2 separate regions of the Homo sapiens genome follow, and region 2 is linked to region 1. Evidence: promoter capture Hi-C in human tissues and cell types (Jung and others, 2019). All regions are on one chromosome and are shown on one strand. The core of a region is centred on a gene start or on the middle of the fragment in contact, and the rest is flanking DNA. Distances in the headings are between cores, read along the strand shown.

Region 1 (7,283 bases), core at 1,650-4,149:
GGGTTACAGGTGTGATCCACTTCACCTAGCCAGATTGTAAGATTTTTAATGTACTTTAATAAACCTTTCATTTTCCCAGAGCACAGAAATTCTATGGCAAAATGGCTTTTCACCGTGTTTCAGTGACAAATCTAAGCCTTCTAAGGAAATGACACTATGGATCCTTCATTTCGTGATCATCAACATTTTTCAATTAAGCTCTGCCTTTTTAAATCAATCTTATTAAAAATGTTCATGACCTTCTAAGGCAGTGTGGACGCAAAAGCTTCCTGTGTGTCTACAGTTATTTTAGGAGCTGACCATACATGATGAGTGATACAGCCTGTACTTTGCTCATCTAGAGCAGCACTGTCCAATAAAATATGTGTGTATATGTATATTGGTCCAAGTGATCTTCCCACCTCACTCCCCTGAGTAGCTGGCACCAAAGGCCCATGACAATGTACCTGAGATGGGGTTCTCAGGCTGTTGGCCAGGCTGGTCTCCCACTCTTGGCCTCAAATGATCTGCATCATCTCAGCCTCCCAAAGTGCTACCTGGGATTCAGGTGTGAAGCCACAGTGCCTGGCCTAAGTATTTTATTTCAATTTCTTTTTTGAGTAGCCAAATGCAAATAATTAAAAGATGAAATTACAGTTGTCCCTTGAACACATGGGTTTGAACTTTAGGGTCCACTTACATGCAGAATTTTTTTTTCTTTTTTTCTTTTTTTTTTTTTTGTGAGAGACTCTTTTGCCCAGGCTGGAGTGCAGTTGCATGATCCTAGCTCACTGCAACCTTTGTCTCCTGGGTTCAAGCAATTTTCCTGCCTCAGCCTCCTGAGTAATTGGAATTACAGGCACCCGCCACCACGCCCGGCTAATTTTTGTATTTTTCGTAGAGACGGGGTTTCACTATGTCAGCTAGGCTGGTCTTGAACTCCCGGGTTACACCATGTTGGCCAGGCTGGTCTTGAACTCCTGACCTCATGATCCACCCGCCTGGGCCTCCCAAAGTGCTGGGATTACAGGCGTGAGCCACCACGCCAGGCCTCATGCAGATTTTTCAGTGAAAGTAAACCTGGGAGGCGGAGGTTGCAGTGAGCCGAGATCATGCCACTGCACTCCAGCCTGGGTGACACAGTGAGACTCTGTCTCAAAAAATAAAATTTCAAAAAAAAAAAATTTAAATGGCCAGGCACAGTGGGTCATTCCTGTAATCCCAGTATTTAGGGAGGCAGAGGCAGGAGGATAGCTTTAGCTCAGAAGTTCAAGACCTACCTGGGCAATATAGGGAGATCCTGTTGTCCACAAAAAGAAAAAAAAAATGTTAAAATGTGTAAGTGACTTCCCAATGTTGTAAACGGAAAGAGGCTTCCTTAAGGGCCTTTGAGCACTGACCTAGCAGTGTTCCAACCTCATCTTGCTCCACTCTGCCTTTTCACTCAACATGGTGGTCCTTACACCTAAGACACTCTTCCATCCTCCCACCCCCAACTTTGCCGATCCTTAAAGTCTCACTTCCTCACTTTACTGACTCCCACAGACTAGGGTGTTTGTTAAATATTCATAACTTCCTGTGTTTTTCACCTTTTTTTTTTTTTTTTTTTTTTTGAGACAGAGTCTTGCTCTGTCGCCCAAGCTGGAGTGCAGTGGCACGATTTCGGCTCACTGCAACCTCTGCCTCCCGGGTTCAAGCGATTCTCCTTCCTCAACCTCCTGAGTAGCTGGGATTACAGGCGTGTGCCACTACGCCTGGCTAATTTTTGTATTTTTAGTAGAGACAGGGTTTCTCCATGTTGGTCATGCTCGTCTTGAATTTCTGACCTCGTGATCCACCTGCCTCGGCCTCCCAAAGTGCTGGGGTTGCAGATGTGAGCCACCGCCCCCGGCCCACATTTCTTTGTGTGATCAATATCCATCAACAACCATCTCGACCCAAGAACAGGAACATTTATAATTATGGGGTTTTTGTTGCTTTTTGTGGACTACAGCCTTCGTGAGAGGAGGAATTACTCTATTGTGGTTACTCTTGTAACCATACTCAGGTCCTAGACAAGTGCCTGGCCCATCGAAGGTGTAAGTAAATAATGTGATTGAATGACAGAAAGCCTCAACAGACAAATAGTTGAGTCTAGCTAATCTTACATTAAAAACGAAGCAAGCTCAATAAACTAATCTACAACAGTCATCTCTGTAGCAAAGCTGGAGTTTCTTATTCTCTTTTATGTTTATTTTTATTCAGTTCCCTTTCAGGCTATGGAGTTCCTTATTCTCTGGTGTGGCACGCACACCAGAATCTGTGAGAAGCTATGCGTCGTGCTCTGATTTTTCACCCTTAGTTGCCTAACAGGAACATCCCATACTGGTTTTTGTTTTTCTTTTTCTTTTTGAGACAGGGTCTTGCTTTGTCTCCCAGGCTGGTGTGCAGTGGCGCCATCTGGGCTCAATGCAGCCTCGACCTCTTGGGCTCAAACCCTCCCGCCTCAGCTTGCCGAGTACTTGGGACTACAATCGCCCAGCTAATTTTTATATTTTTTTGTAGTGTCTGGGTCTCGCTCTGTTGCCCAGGGTGGTCTCCAACTCCTGGGCTCACGTGATCCTCCCACCTCTGCCTCCCGAGTAGTTGGTATTACAGGTGTGAGCCACCCCGCCCTGCCCCCAGATTGCTTTAGCGCATTCTGACCTACTCCAGCTTTCTTCACATTTCAAAAAGCACCAATCCCAGGATGCAATGCAGACAATGAGTACCAGTCGCTTAGAAACCACACGTCCCAGCATGCCGTCCTCCGGGCAATCGCAAGCCCGATAGGCCCCGCTGCATTCCGGGAGTTGTAGTCTCTAGCGACTGGCCCCGCCCCGTGTGCAGCTTTCGCGGCCTGCGTCTGGAGAAAACCCTAGCGGGTGGCTCCGTGCGGCCAGAGCTCTAGAGAGTGGTGCCGCCTTCCAACCTTCTTCCCCAAGCCCTGGTGGCCGGCTCCGCCTCTTCTCGAATCTTTTCCACAGCCCAAAATGGCCGCAGAGGTGTATTTTGGCGATCTAGAGCTCTTCGAGCCGTTCGACCACCCAGAGGAGTCGATTCCGAAGCCCGTTCACACTCGCTTCAAGGACGACGACGGCGACGAGGAGGACGAAAATGGGGTCGGCGACGCGGAGCTACGGGAGCGGCTTCGGCAGTGCGAGGAGACCATCGAGCAGCTCCGCGCCGAGAATATCCTTTCCTCTCGCTGGGCCCTGTCACCCGGGTGTGGGGCCGGGGCAGCGCCAGGCGTGGGGCCGGGGCAGCGCCGGGCGAGGGCGAGGGCGCGGGCGGAAGTTCCAGGAGGGCCAGAATTCCAAGTGCTTTCTGTCACCCGCCGGCGGACCGAGAGTCTAGGGTTCGGGGCGCGCAGGCTGCCTCGGCGCAGACCTCTTCCCCTCAGGGAGGCCGTCTCCTGACCAGACCCACTCCTGCCTCCCACCCGGGTGCCGTGTTTAGGGTTATTTTAGGCTGCTCACCTGACAGATTGTACACAAGCCCTTAATTGCCCCCCTCTGTTTGAGGTCGTGGTGAGGTTTCATATTTCGCAGCCACGCTCAAATTGTGCCGTCATGTTACAGTTGTAGGTGATGAAATACCGGCTGCTTAGACGCGGGATCGGTTTTTATACCGGGGCAAACGCTAGTGGTCCCAGAATGCAGAGTTGGGGGCCTCAAGGAATCCGGGTGTGCTGAGATAATTGGTTAATTGCTTGATTAAAATTGGGGATTAATTTTAGAGTTCTTCCACTCGGAGCTCGCTTCTGTGCTGAAGATGCTTTGCAACGCCTTGAGGAAAACGCGCCAAAGAAGTTTCTGTTAGACTTGAGTTACAAGATTGCAGATTTTTCTTGATTTGCTAGTATGTTTTTTTTTACGTTCGTAGAGTTTTATAGGTAGATAGATAACTTTGGTTCGGGTAGTTTTCCTTTTAAAATTTGTAGAGAACTGAAAGTGGCTGATATGTTAGCTTTTTTAGGGGGACGGGGTCGGGGAATGGAGTCTCAGTCTGTTGCCCAGGCTGGAGTGCAGTGGCGCGATCTCGGCTCACTGCAACCTCCGCCTCCCGGGTTCAAGCGATTCTCCTGCCTCAGCCTCCCGAATAGCTGGGATTACAGGCGCCCGCCACGGCGCCCAGTCAGTATATCAGTTTTTAAGGTTTGTGAAGCGCGATTTATTTTTTCAGAATGTCGTCTTCCTCCACATTGTGAGGAAAATTTTCAGAATACAAAAAGTTGAGGCCGGGCGCTGTGGCTCAAGCCTGTAATCCCAGCACTTTGGGAGGCCGAGGCGGGTGGATCATGAGGTCAGGAGGATCATGAGGATCAGGTGGATCATGAGGATCAGGAGGTCAGCCTGGCCAACATGGTGAAACCCCGTCTCTACTAAAAATACAAAATTAGCCGGGCGTGGTGGCGCGTGCTTGTAATCCCAGCTACTCAGGAGGCTGAGGCAGGAGAATCCCTTGAACCTGGGAGGCGGAGGTTGCAGTGAGCCAAGATCACACCATTGCACTCCAGCCTGGGCGACAGGGTGAGACTGTGTCTCAAAAAAAAAAAAAAAAAGTTGAAAGGATTCTACAGTGGACATCCATAGATTTATTCCAAATTCTAAAGTTGTTAACAGCTCGTTATACTGCATTCTCTTTATCACATAGTGGTTGTTGAAAGGTTTGACAGGAACACTGATGCTTCAATAATGGTTTTGGTTCAGTTTGTTAGTCTGTTGAACTTCAGGATCGTGTCTTAGAATATATGTTCGAAAGGATAAAAACCGTACTTTAATTTTGGGTTTCAAAAGCCTACCCCTGCAACAAAATAGAAGCTCAATAAGTGTGTCATCCTCAAAATATCCGTGGGTCTTTTGTCTTTATAATATTCTGACACCAAAAGTGAGAGAAGTAGTAGTTGAATTTTATGATTTGCATTGTTAAATGAGGGCTTATCTTCCTTAACAAATAATAACATCAAGAACTTAAACGAAAATTGAACATTCTGACTCGACCGAGGTATGAGATTTTTGAAATTACTCCATAGTTGTCCCTTATTATTTATCCTGATATTAATATTTAATCAGAATTTCGTTGTAAAAAGTGTATGGGATTTTTGTATCATTTTTATTTGTTTAGCATACTCTGAAGAAATCAAAGTAATAGTTATTTAATTGTGGGGATAAGGTCTGAATTCTCATAAGTGGATTAAAATTGTAAGCTCATTTATTGGATGAAAGGATGAAACAAAATCCAGAAAATGTTTACTTAATGTTCAGAATAGGCAAGTTGTTAACCTAGCTATTCCTATTTAACAAACATTTCTAGAAAGTTAGAATTAAGATTACAATATTGGCTGGGTCTGGTGGCTCATGCCTGTAATTCCAGCACCTAAAAAAAAAAATTATAGTATAATGGGCCAGGGGCAGTGGCTCACGCCTGTAATCCCAGCACTTTGGGAGGCCGAGGTGGGCGGATCAACTGAGGTCAGTTCGAGAGCAGCCTGGGCAACGTGGTGAAACGCTGTCTCTACTAAAATTACAAAAATAAGCTGGACGTGGTGGGCGCCTGTAATCCCAGCTACTTGGGAGGCTAAGGCAGGAAAATCCCTTGAACCCGGGAGGTAGAGGTTGCAGTGAGCTGAGAGTGACAAGAGCGAAACTCCGTCTGAAAAAAAAAAAAAAAAAGATTACAGTATTACTCTAGCTGAAGATTTATTTACATAGTTAAAATGTGTTCATAAATAGAACAATGAAAGAATCAGCATTTTAGAAGAAAAAGTAATGTGCTTTTGAAAAAGATAAAGTGTGTAGATTTGCATTTAGGCATCTGATTTTATGTTTTTGTTTTTGTTTGAGACAAGATCTCACTCTGTCACTCAGGCTGGTGTACAGTGTTGCAATTATAGCTCACTGAAACCTTGATCCTCCCGCCTCAGCCTCCCAAATAGCTGGGACTACAGGCAGACACCACCACACCCAGCTACTTTTTTTTTTTCTGATAGAGTCAGGGTCTTGCTGTGTTACTCAAGCTGGTCTCAAACTCCTGGCCTGAAGTGATCCTTCTGCCTAGGCCTCCCAAAGTGCTGGAATTACAGGGATGAGCCACCATGCCCAGCCTAGGCACCTAACTTTAACAGAGATATTACTGGTATCTCAAAATATATATTTATTTAACAGGTCACTAATCTAAAGTATTTGTTAAAGTACAGATTATGAGAAATTATATTTTCAAGCTTTCAGAATTTGGAGGTGCCATGATGTAATTTCACATGCACTTTTTTATTATATTTTTTAATTTTTTTGAGACAGAGTGTTACTCTGTTTCCCAGGCTAGACTGCAGTGGTACTATCTCAGCTCACTGCAACCTTCACCTCCCGGGTTCAAGCAATTCTCCTGCCTCAGCCTCCCGAATAGCTGGGATTACAGGTGCCCACTACCACACTCGGCTAATTTTTATATATTTAGTAGAGATGGGGCTTCACCATGTTGGCCAGGCTGGTCTCGAACTCCTGGCCTCGAGTGATCTGTCCACCTCAACCTCCCAAAGTGCTGGAATTAACAGGCATGAGCCACTGCACCTGGCCTCACATGAACTTTTTAGTCCCTGGCACCAGTTGGAATAACTGGCTGCAGTGGTGACTACAGGTTTAAATTTTAGAATTTAGAAATATTTCAGATTTTTTTTTTTTGAGATGGAGTCTCGCTCTGTCGCCCAGGCTGGAGTGCAGTGGCATGACCTCGGCTCACTGCAGCCTCCACCTCCTGGGTTCAAGCGATTCTGCTTTCTCCTGCCTCAGCCTCCTGAGTAGCTGGGACTACAGGTGCCTGCCACCAGGCCCGGCTAATTTATTTGTATTTTTAGTAGAGATGGGGTTTCACCGTGTTGGCCAGGATGGTCTTGATCTCCTGACATCATGATCTGCCCGCCTCGGCTTCCCAAAGTGCTGGGATTACAGGCAGGAGCCACCGCACCCGGCCAATATTTCAAATTAACTTCCTCATATCTCACCCTTTTTTCTCTATGTGAGCTAACTTTGTGTATCTAAACTCATTTTTGGCTGGGCACAATGGCTCACACCTGTAATCTCAGCACTTTGGGAGGACTGCTTGAGACCAGAAGTGGGAGACCAGTCTGGACAACATGGTGAGACTCTGTCTCTACAAAAAATTTTTAAAAATTAGCTGGATGTGGTGGCATGTTCCTCTGGTCTCAGCTACATGGGAGGCTTAATAAAATAAACTAAATTTTGATTAGGTATTCAATATATTAAATATAACTAGGATTCCTCATAAAA
Region 2 (7,283 bases), core at 2,030-4,529, 220 kb before region 1:
TTTTTAGTAGAGACAGGGTTTCACCGTGTTAGCCAGGATGGTCTCGATCTCCTGACCTCGTGATCCGCCCGCCTCAGCCTCCCAAAGTGCTTGGATTACAGGCGTGAGCCACGGCGCCTGGCCTCTGTTTTTTTTTTTTTTTTTTCTAAACAGAGTTTCACTCTTGTTGCCCAGGCTGTAGTGCAATGGCGTCATCTCAGCTCACCGCAACCTCCGCCTCCTGGGTCCCAGTTCAAGCAGTTCTCCTGCCTCCGCTACTGAGTAGCTGGGATTACAGGCACGCGCCACCACACCCAGCTAAATTTTGTATTTTTAGTAGAGATCTGATTTCACCATGTTGACCAGGCTGGTATCAAACTCCTGACCTCGTGATCCGCCCACCTCAGCCTCCCAAAGTGCTGGGATTACAGGCGTGAGCCACTGTGCCCGGGTTTTTTTGTTTGTTTGTTTGTTTGTTTGGTGGAGTCTCGCTCTGTCACCCAGGCTGCAGTGCAGTGGCACAATCTTGGTTCACTGCAACCTCCAACTCCCTGGTTCAAGCGATTCTCCTGCCTCAGCCTCCCAAGTGGCTGGGATTACAGGCGCCCGCCACCACGCCCAGCTAATTTTTGTATACTTTAGTAGAGACGGGGTTTCACCATATTGGCCAAGATGGTCTGGATCTCCTGACCTTGTGATCCTCCCGTCTCGGCCTCCCAAAGTGTTGGGATTACAGGCGTGAGCCACCGCGCCCGGCCATGCTCTGCTCTTATGAGCTGGGTGGCCCTGAATATTTTATCCTCTCTGAGCTTCACTTTCCTCATTTGAAATCAGAATCAATAATAATACCTTCCACATGGGCTACAGTCAGAGTGAAACAAGCAACTATAAAAGCACTGAGCTCCTGGCTAACATGGTGAAACCCCATCTCTACTAAAAATACAAAAAATTAGCTAGGCGTGGTGGCGGGTGCCTGTAGTCCCAGCTACTCGGGAGGCTGAGGCAGCATGGCGTGAACCCAGGAGGCGGGGCTTGCAGTGAGGCGAGAGCGAGACTTTGTCTCAAAAAAAAAAAAGCACTGAGTATGGGTTCCAGCACATGGGAAGCTCTCTATAATGTAGGTGCCACCATCATCTTCATCATTGTCTTCATCTCACCTGGATCATCATCAAGTACTTGTAGTTCTATGGGAACCTAATATTAGGTCATCCTAACTCTAGTTTACTTGAAGACTCTATAAGCTCCTATTATTGAACCTGCGTTTGCAGCTAAAGAAATAAATTGACATCTTATGGCCGGCAGTGATGGTTCACACCTGTAAGCCCAGCACTTTGGGATGCCAAGGCGGGAGGATCACTTGAAGTCAGGAGTTCAAGACCAGCCTGGCCAAAATGGTGAAATCCATCTCTATTAAAAAATACAAAAATTAGCCAGGCACGGTGGCGGGCACCTGTAGTCTCAGCTACTTGGGAGGCTGAGGCAGGAGAATGACTGGAACCCAGGAGGCAGAGGTTGCAGTGAGCCACTGCACTCCAGCCTGGGCGATAGAGTGAAACTCCATCTCAAAAGAAAAAAAAAAAAAAAGGAAGAAATTTACATTATATAACTCAAAGTAGAAGCAACATAGTTTAGAAGTCTCCTGCATGGAAGAATTCATAAGACCAAAATATTAAAGGGAGAAAACATTCTATAGGATGACACCCAATCGCACTGACAAGCAGAGAAACAATGTGTGCAATGGTGTCCCGCTACAAGGCAGGGTTCCATGTCCTCTTAGGTCCTGTCACTCTAAGTTTAATTTTACAAAAATGGGGGCTTTAAAAATATCACATACTTAGTGGGGGAGGTTTTGCGTGTGTGGAGACAGAGTGCACAGGACCGTCCGTACTTTCTGCTCAATTTTGCTGTGAATCTAAAACTGCCCTAAAAAATAAAGTTCATTAAAAAAAAAAAATCACGGCCAGGCGCAGTGGCTCACGCCTGTAATCACAGCACTTTGGGAGACCGAGGCGGGTGGATCACAAGGTCAGGAGTTCGAGACCAGCCTGGCCAACACAGTGAAACCTCGTCTTTACTAAAAATACAAAAAATTAGCTGGGCGTGGTGGCGCACGCCTGTAGTCCCAGATACTCAGGAGGCTGAGGCAGAAGAATTGCTTGAACCTGGGAGGCGGAGGTTGCAGTGAGCTGAGATTGTTCCACCGTTCTCCAGCCTGGGTGACAGAGTGAGACTCTGTCTCAAAAAAAAAAAATCACATCCTAAGGTCCCAAGGACATAAAACAAGTTAGAGACCTCATCCAGTTTTTTGTTTGTTTCAGGGACCTGCAACCAACTTTCTTACTGACCAGTTTCCTGGGCTGTCTAGAACAGACAGCTTATGGGGTACTAACCCCATGCTCTATCCTAAGGTACCCCTCTTCATGCAGAGCGACACAGAAAAACAAATTTGTAGCACAAAGTACACCCGATTTGCTACAGCTTACAACTAGCCTCATGAATCCTTTTCTCATTAATTCAAAGTTTGCAAAAAAAAGAAATCACATACTTAAATCACTTGAGCACAGAAGCATATCAAAATCTAATATAAACAAACAAAAAACCCAACTTATTTTAACATGCCACTGAAACTGGGCTCAAGTTTTCAAACATCTTATGAAATATTACACTCTCCAGCAGGCTTTTTTTTTTTTCCTAACTGGAGATGAATGGCAGAGTTCTGATATGGAAAAGCACTCCATGTTTGTACAGAAAGGTAGCATAGGAAAAGTGGTCAAATTCAACCAGTCTGTCCTCATCAAACAGGCAACTACTGTCTTCTCAGCATTTCCAAAAGAAATCATATGCCTGCTACTGTTTATGTCATATGCCTGTTAATTTTTCATGCTAATTCTTAGTGTTTCTGGAAAACCTCACTGTTTGGCACCAAAAATTATTATTGCTATTGTTGTTGTTTTGTTAATTATGTCAGCCAAGCAGATGACGGTGAATTAATTCTGCAACGTTGAGTACTCAGTTGGCATACAAGCACCCAGCCTTCCAAAGGGATGTCCTTCATGTTTCACTGATTTTCGAATGACAGTCAGCTTGCCTAAACTTATCCTTTACATTTAAGACATTTGGTGGGTTCCTGTATGCCCAGGGGATTTTTATTATTTGTTTATGCAAACAGCAGGTTGCATAAGAGCCTTGCTGGCTTTTTTTTTTTTTTTTTTAGAGATTTCGTAGTTTCCTGATAACCATTCAGTCATCTATTTCAACACCCTGACATGACATAAAGGCAGGCACGGAACCACACGTTCACCATACAGACACACGCCACTTTGCTGGAGCATTCACTAGGCGAGGCGCTCCATCGGACTCACTAGCTGCACTCATGAATCGGCACCATCTGCAGGATCACTTTCTGGAAATAGACAAGAAGAACTGCTGTGTGTTCCGAGATGACTTCATTGCCAAGGTGTTGCCGCCGGTGTTGGGGCTGGAGTTTATCTTTGGGCTTCTGGGCAATGGCCTTGCCCTGTGGATTTTCTGTTTCCACCTCAAGTCCTGGAAATCCAGCCGGATTTTCCTGTTCAACCTGGCAGTAGCTGACTTTCTACTGATCATCTGCCTGCCGTTCGTGATGGACTACTATGTGCGGCGTTCAGACTGGAAGTTTGGGGACATCCCTTGCCGGCTGGTGCTCTTCATGTTTGCCATGAACCGCCAGGGCAGCATCATATTCCTCACGGTGGTGGCGGTAGACAGGTATTTCCGGGTGGTCCATCCCCACCACGCCCTGAACAAGATCTCCAATTGGACAGCAGCCATCATCTCTTGCCTTCTGTGGGGCATCACTGTTGGCCTAACAGTCCACCTCCTGAAGAAGAAGTTGCTGATCCAGAATGGCACTGCAAATGTGTGCATCAGCTTCAGCATCTGCCATACCTTCCGGTGGCACGAAGCTATGTTCCTCCTGGAGTTCTTCCTGCCCCTGGGCATCATCCTGTTCTGCTCAGCCAGAATTATCTGGAGCCTGCGGCAGAGACAAATGGACCGGCATGCCAAGATCAAGAGAGCCATCACCTTCATCATGGTGGTGGCCATCGTCTTTGTCATCTGCTTCCTTCCCAGCGTGGTTGTGCGGATCCACATCTTCTGGCTCCTGCACACTTCGGGCACGCAGAATTGTGAAGTGTACCGCTCGGTGGACCTGGCGTTCTTTATCACTCTCAGCTTCACCTACATGAACAGCATGCTGGACCCCGTGGTGTACTACTTCTCCAGCCCATCCTTTCCCAACTTCTTCTCCACTTTGATCAACCGCTGCCTCCAGAGGAAGATAACAGGTGAGCCAGATAATAACCGCAGCACGAGCGTCGAGCTCACAGGGGACCCCAACAAAACCAGAGGCGCTCCAGAGGCGTTAATCGCCAACTCCGGTGAGCCATGGAGCCCCTCTTATCTGGGCCCAACCTCAAATAACCATTCCAAGAAGGGACATTGTCACCAAGAACCAGCATCTCTGGAGAAACAGTTGGGCTGTTGCATCGAGTAATGTCACTGGACTCGGCCTAAGATTTCCTGGAACTTCCAGATTCAGAGAATCTGATTTAGGGAAACTGTGGCAGATGAGTGGGAGACTGGTTGCAAGGTGTGACCGCAGGAATCCTGGAGGAACAGAGAGTAAAGCTTCTAGGCATCTGAAACTTGCTTCATCTCTGACGCTCGCAGGACTGAAGATGGGCAAATTGTAGGCGTTTCTGCTGAGCAGAGTTGGAGCCAGAGATCTACTTGTGACTTGTTGGCCTTCTTCCCACATCTGCCTCAGACTGGAGGGGGCTCAGCTCCTGGGGTGATATCTAGCCTGCTTGTGAGCTCTAGCAGGGATAAGGAGAGCTGAGATTGGAGGGAATTGTGTTGTTCCTGGAGGAAGCCCAGGCATCATTAAACAAGCCAGTAGGTCACCTGGCTTCCGTGGACCAATTCATCTTTCAGACAATCTTTAGCAGAAATGGACTCAGGGAAGAGACTCACATGCTTTGGTTAGTATCTGTGTTTCCGGTGGGTGTAATAGGGGATTAGCCCCAGAAGGGACTGAGCTAAACAGTGTTATTATGGGAAAGGAAATGGCATTGCTGCTTTCAACCAGCGACTAATGCAATCCATTCCTCTCTTGTTTATAGTAATCTAAGGGTTGAACAGTTAAAACGGCTTCAGGATAGAAAGCTGTTTCCCACCTGTTTGCTTTTACCATTAAAAGGGAAACGTGCCTCTGCCCCACGGGTAGAGGGGTGCACGTTCCTCCTGGTTCCTTCGCTTGTGTTTCTGTACTTACCAAAAATCTACCATTTCAATAAATTTTGATAGGAGACAGTCTGGCGTTGCTATATCTGGGTTATGGTTCACAGAAATGGACTTCTTACTTAAGCAGAGACCTTTATGGGTTGTTAACTTTGTCCTGGTAGAAAACTACTCCACACTGCAAAGTAAGAAAGAGACACAGACACTGAGCTACATCATGAAACAACTAAGCAGAAATTACACCTGTGTCTAAACAAAGATAGAAAGAGCTGGGATTAAAAATAATTTGGAAGGATAGTACAGATAGGATTGCAAGAGCACTTACATTTTATTAGAGTTTGGTGAATATTGCTCTTCATATTTGTGCATTAAAAAGGGAATCAAGGCCAGGTGCAATGGTTCATGCCTGTAATCCCAGCACTTTGGGGGAGCCAAGGCGGGCAGATCACCTGAAGTAAGGAGTTTGAGACCAGCCTGGACAAAATGGTGAAACCCCACTTCTACTAAAAATACAAGAAAAATTAGCCAGGCATGGTGGCGGCCGCTTGTAGTCCCAGCTACTGGGAAGGCTGGGAGAAGAAGAATTGCTTGAACCCGGGAGGCGGAGGTTGCAGTGAGCCGAGGTGGTGTGCCTGCACTCCAGCCTGGGGGACAGAGCAAGACTTCATCTCAAATAATAATAATAAATAATATAAAAAGGGAATCAAGCCAGGCAGATATTTTTCCATAGGAGGGGGAAGAGCGAGCTTCCTATGGAATGGTTTCAGTTCCCAATTCGGAGAAGGAAAGGAGATGTACTGGTTTGAGTCTGTGATCAGTCCAAGTTTCTGTTACGCTTTCATTTCTAACTCTGTCAGTCCTTGATTATTTGGCAAGACGAGGCTTGCTTCAACCTCCTGACATGAACACAGATAAGGAATTTAGAGACAGGCTCCCAGCTCTGGGTGAATGACAGTAAATGAAGAAAGGTGGATGCTCTGGAATTACCTCTGTGCTTTCAGAGCAGTTGGCTTGTCTGTATCACCAAGCAATGTACAGGTAAAAAGCCAAAAGCAAGGATCACCTTAAAGAGGAAGAGATGTCAGGGATGAGCTCAGAGGAAAATAGGGATTCCCCAGCCTCGGAGGCATGAGTCAGTGGGGAGCCTCGTTGTGAAACGCGGATTCGTTCAAGGGATGAGGTGGTTTGGGGTGTTTGGACCTCCACAGCTCACATTCATTCACTGATTCAGGCATTCCATCAGTTCTTTGTTTTTTTTTTTTTTTTGAGACCGAGTCTCACTCTGTCATCTAGGCTGGAGTGCAGTGGTGTGATCTGGGTTCACTGCAGCCTCTGCCTCCTGGGTTCAAGTGATTCTCCTACCTCAGCCTCCCCAGTAGCTGGGATTACAGGTGTGCACCACCATGCCTGGCTAATTTTTGTATTTTTAGTAGAGATGGGCTTTCGCTGTGTTGCCCAGGCTGGTCTCCAACTCCTGACCTCAGGTGATCCACCTGCCTCAGCCTCCCAAAGTGCTGGGATTACAGGTGTGAGCCACTGTGCCCAGCCTCATTCCATCAGTTTTATGTATTAAGCGCCAACTGTGTGCCAGGCGCTGTTCTGGGTGGTGGAGATAGAACAAGGAACAAGGCAGCCACAGTCCTCTTCTCATCGAGCTGACTTTTGGAGTGGGGAGACAGGCAGGAATAAAAAGGAGCCTTGGGGTGGCTATGGGTGTCATGACTATGGTGGAGTGGGACAATGGGGATAAAAAGTAACCGGGGCTGGGGTGACTGGGATGGCTTCTATGAGGCATTGACCCTGAGCTGAGCCATGAATGACTAAACAGAAAAGCAATGCAAAAGTCTGGGGGAAAGACACGCCAAGCAGAGGGAATGGTAAGTGCAAAGGCCCTGAGGTGAGAATTAGGTTGGTGACTGCATGTTCATTTCCTGTGGCTGGGTGGCTTGGAACAATAGAAATGTATTCTCCCACAGATCTAGAAGCTAGAAGTGCAGAATCAAGGTGTTGGCAGGGTTGGT

Evidence for each region. Contacts are between HindIII fragments. The study calls those that stand out against the background at their distance.
Region 2: a contact is called between the fragment with the promoter of HCAR3 here and the fragment with the promoter of ZCCHC8 in region 1, in 2 of the 25 tissues and cell types used here (mesenchymal stem cells and ovary).

The regions. Positions count from the first base shown.
Region 1 is chr12:122,496,548-122,503,830 of GRCh38, reverse strand. It overlaps ZCCHC8 (zinc finger CCHC-type containing 8), which reads left to right and starts at 2,899. Exons shown (of 14, transcript NM_017612.5): 1 at 2,899-3,189; 2 at 4,962-5,004. The coding sequence starts at 2,991. RSRC2 (arginine and serine rich coiled-coil 2) reads left to right here. Exons shown (of 10, transcript NM_023012.6): 10 at 1-377. RefSeq lists enhancers at 1,854-2,545, 2,481-2,660, 2,711-2,770, 2,971-3,050, 2,546-3,239 and 1 more and a silencer at 3,191-3,340. The HindIII fragment of the contact is 12,081 bases long and covers 1-7,283 here.
Region 2 is chr12:122,712,807-122,720,089 of GRCh38, reverse strand. It overlaps HCAR3 (hydroxycarboxylic acid receptor 3), which reads left to right and starts at 3,279. Exons shown (of 1, transcript NM_006018.3): 1 at 3,279-5,334. The coding sequence starts at 3,353. The coding sequence ends at 4,516. The HindIII fragment of the contact is 11,637 bases long and covers 1-7,283 here.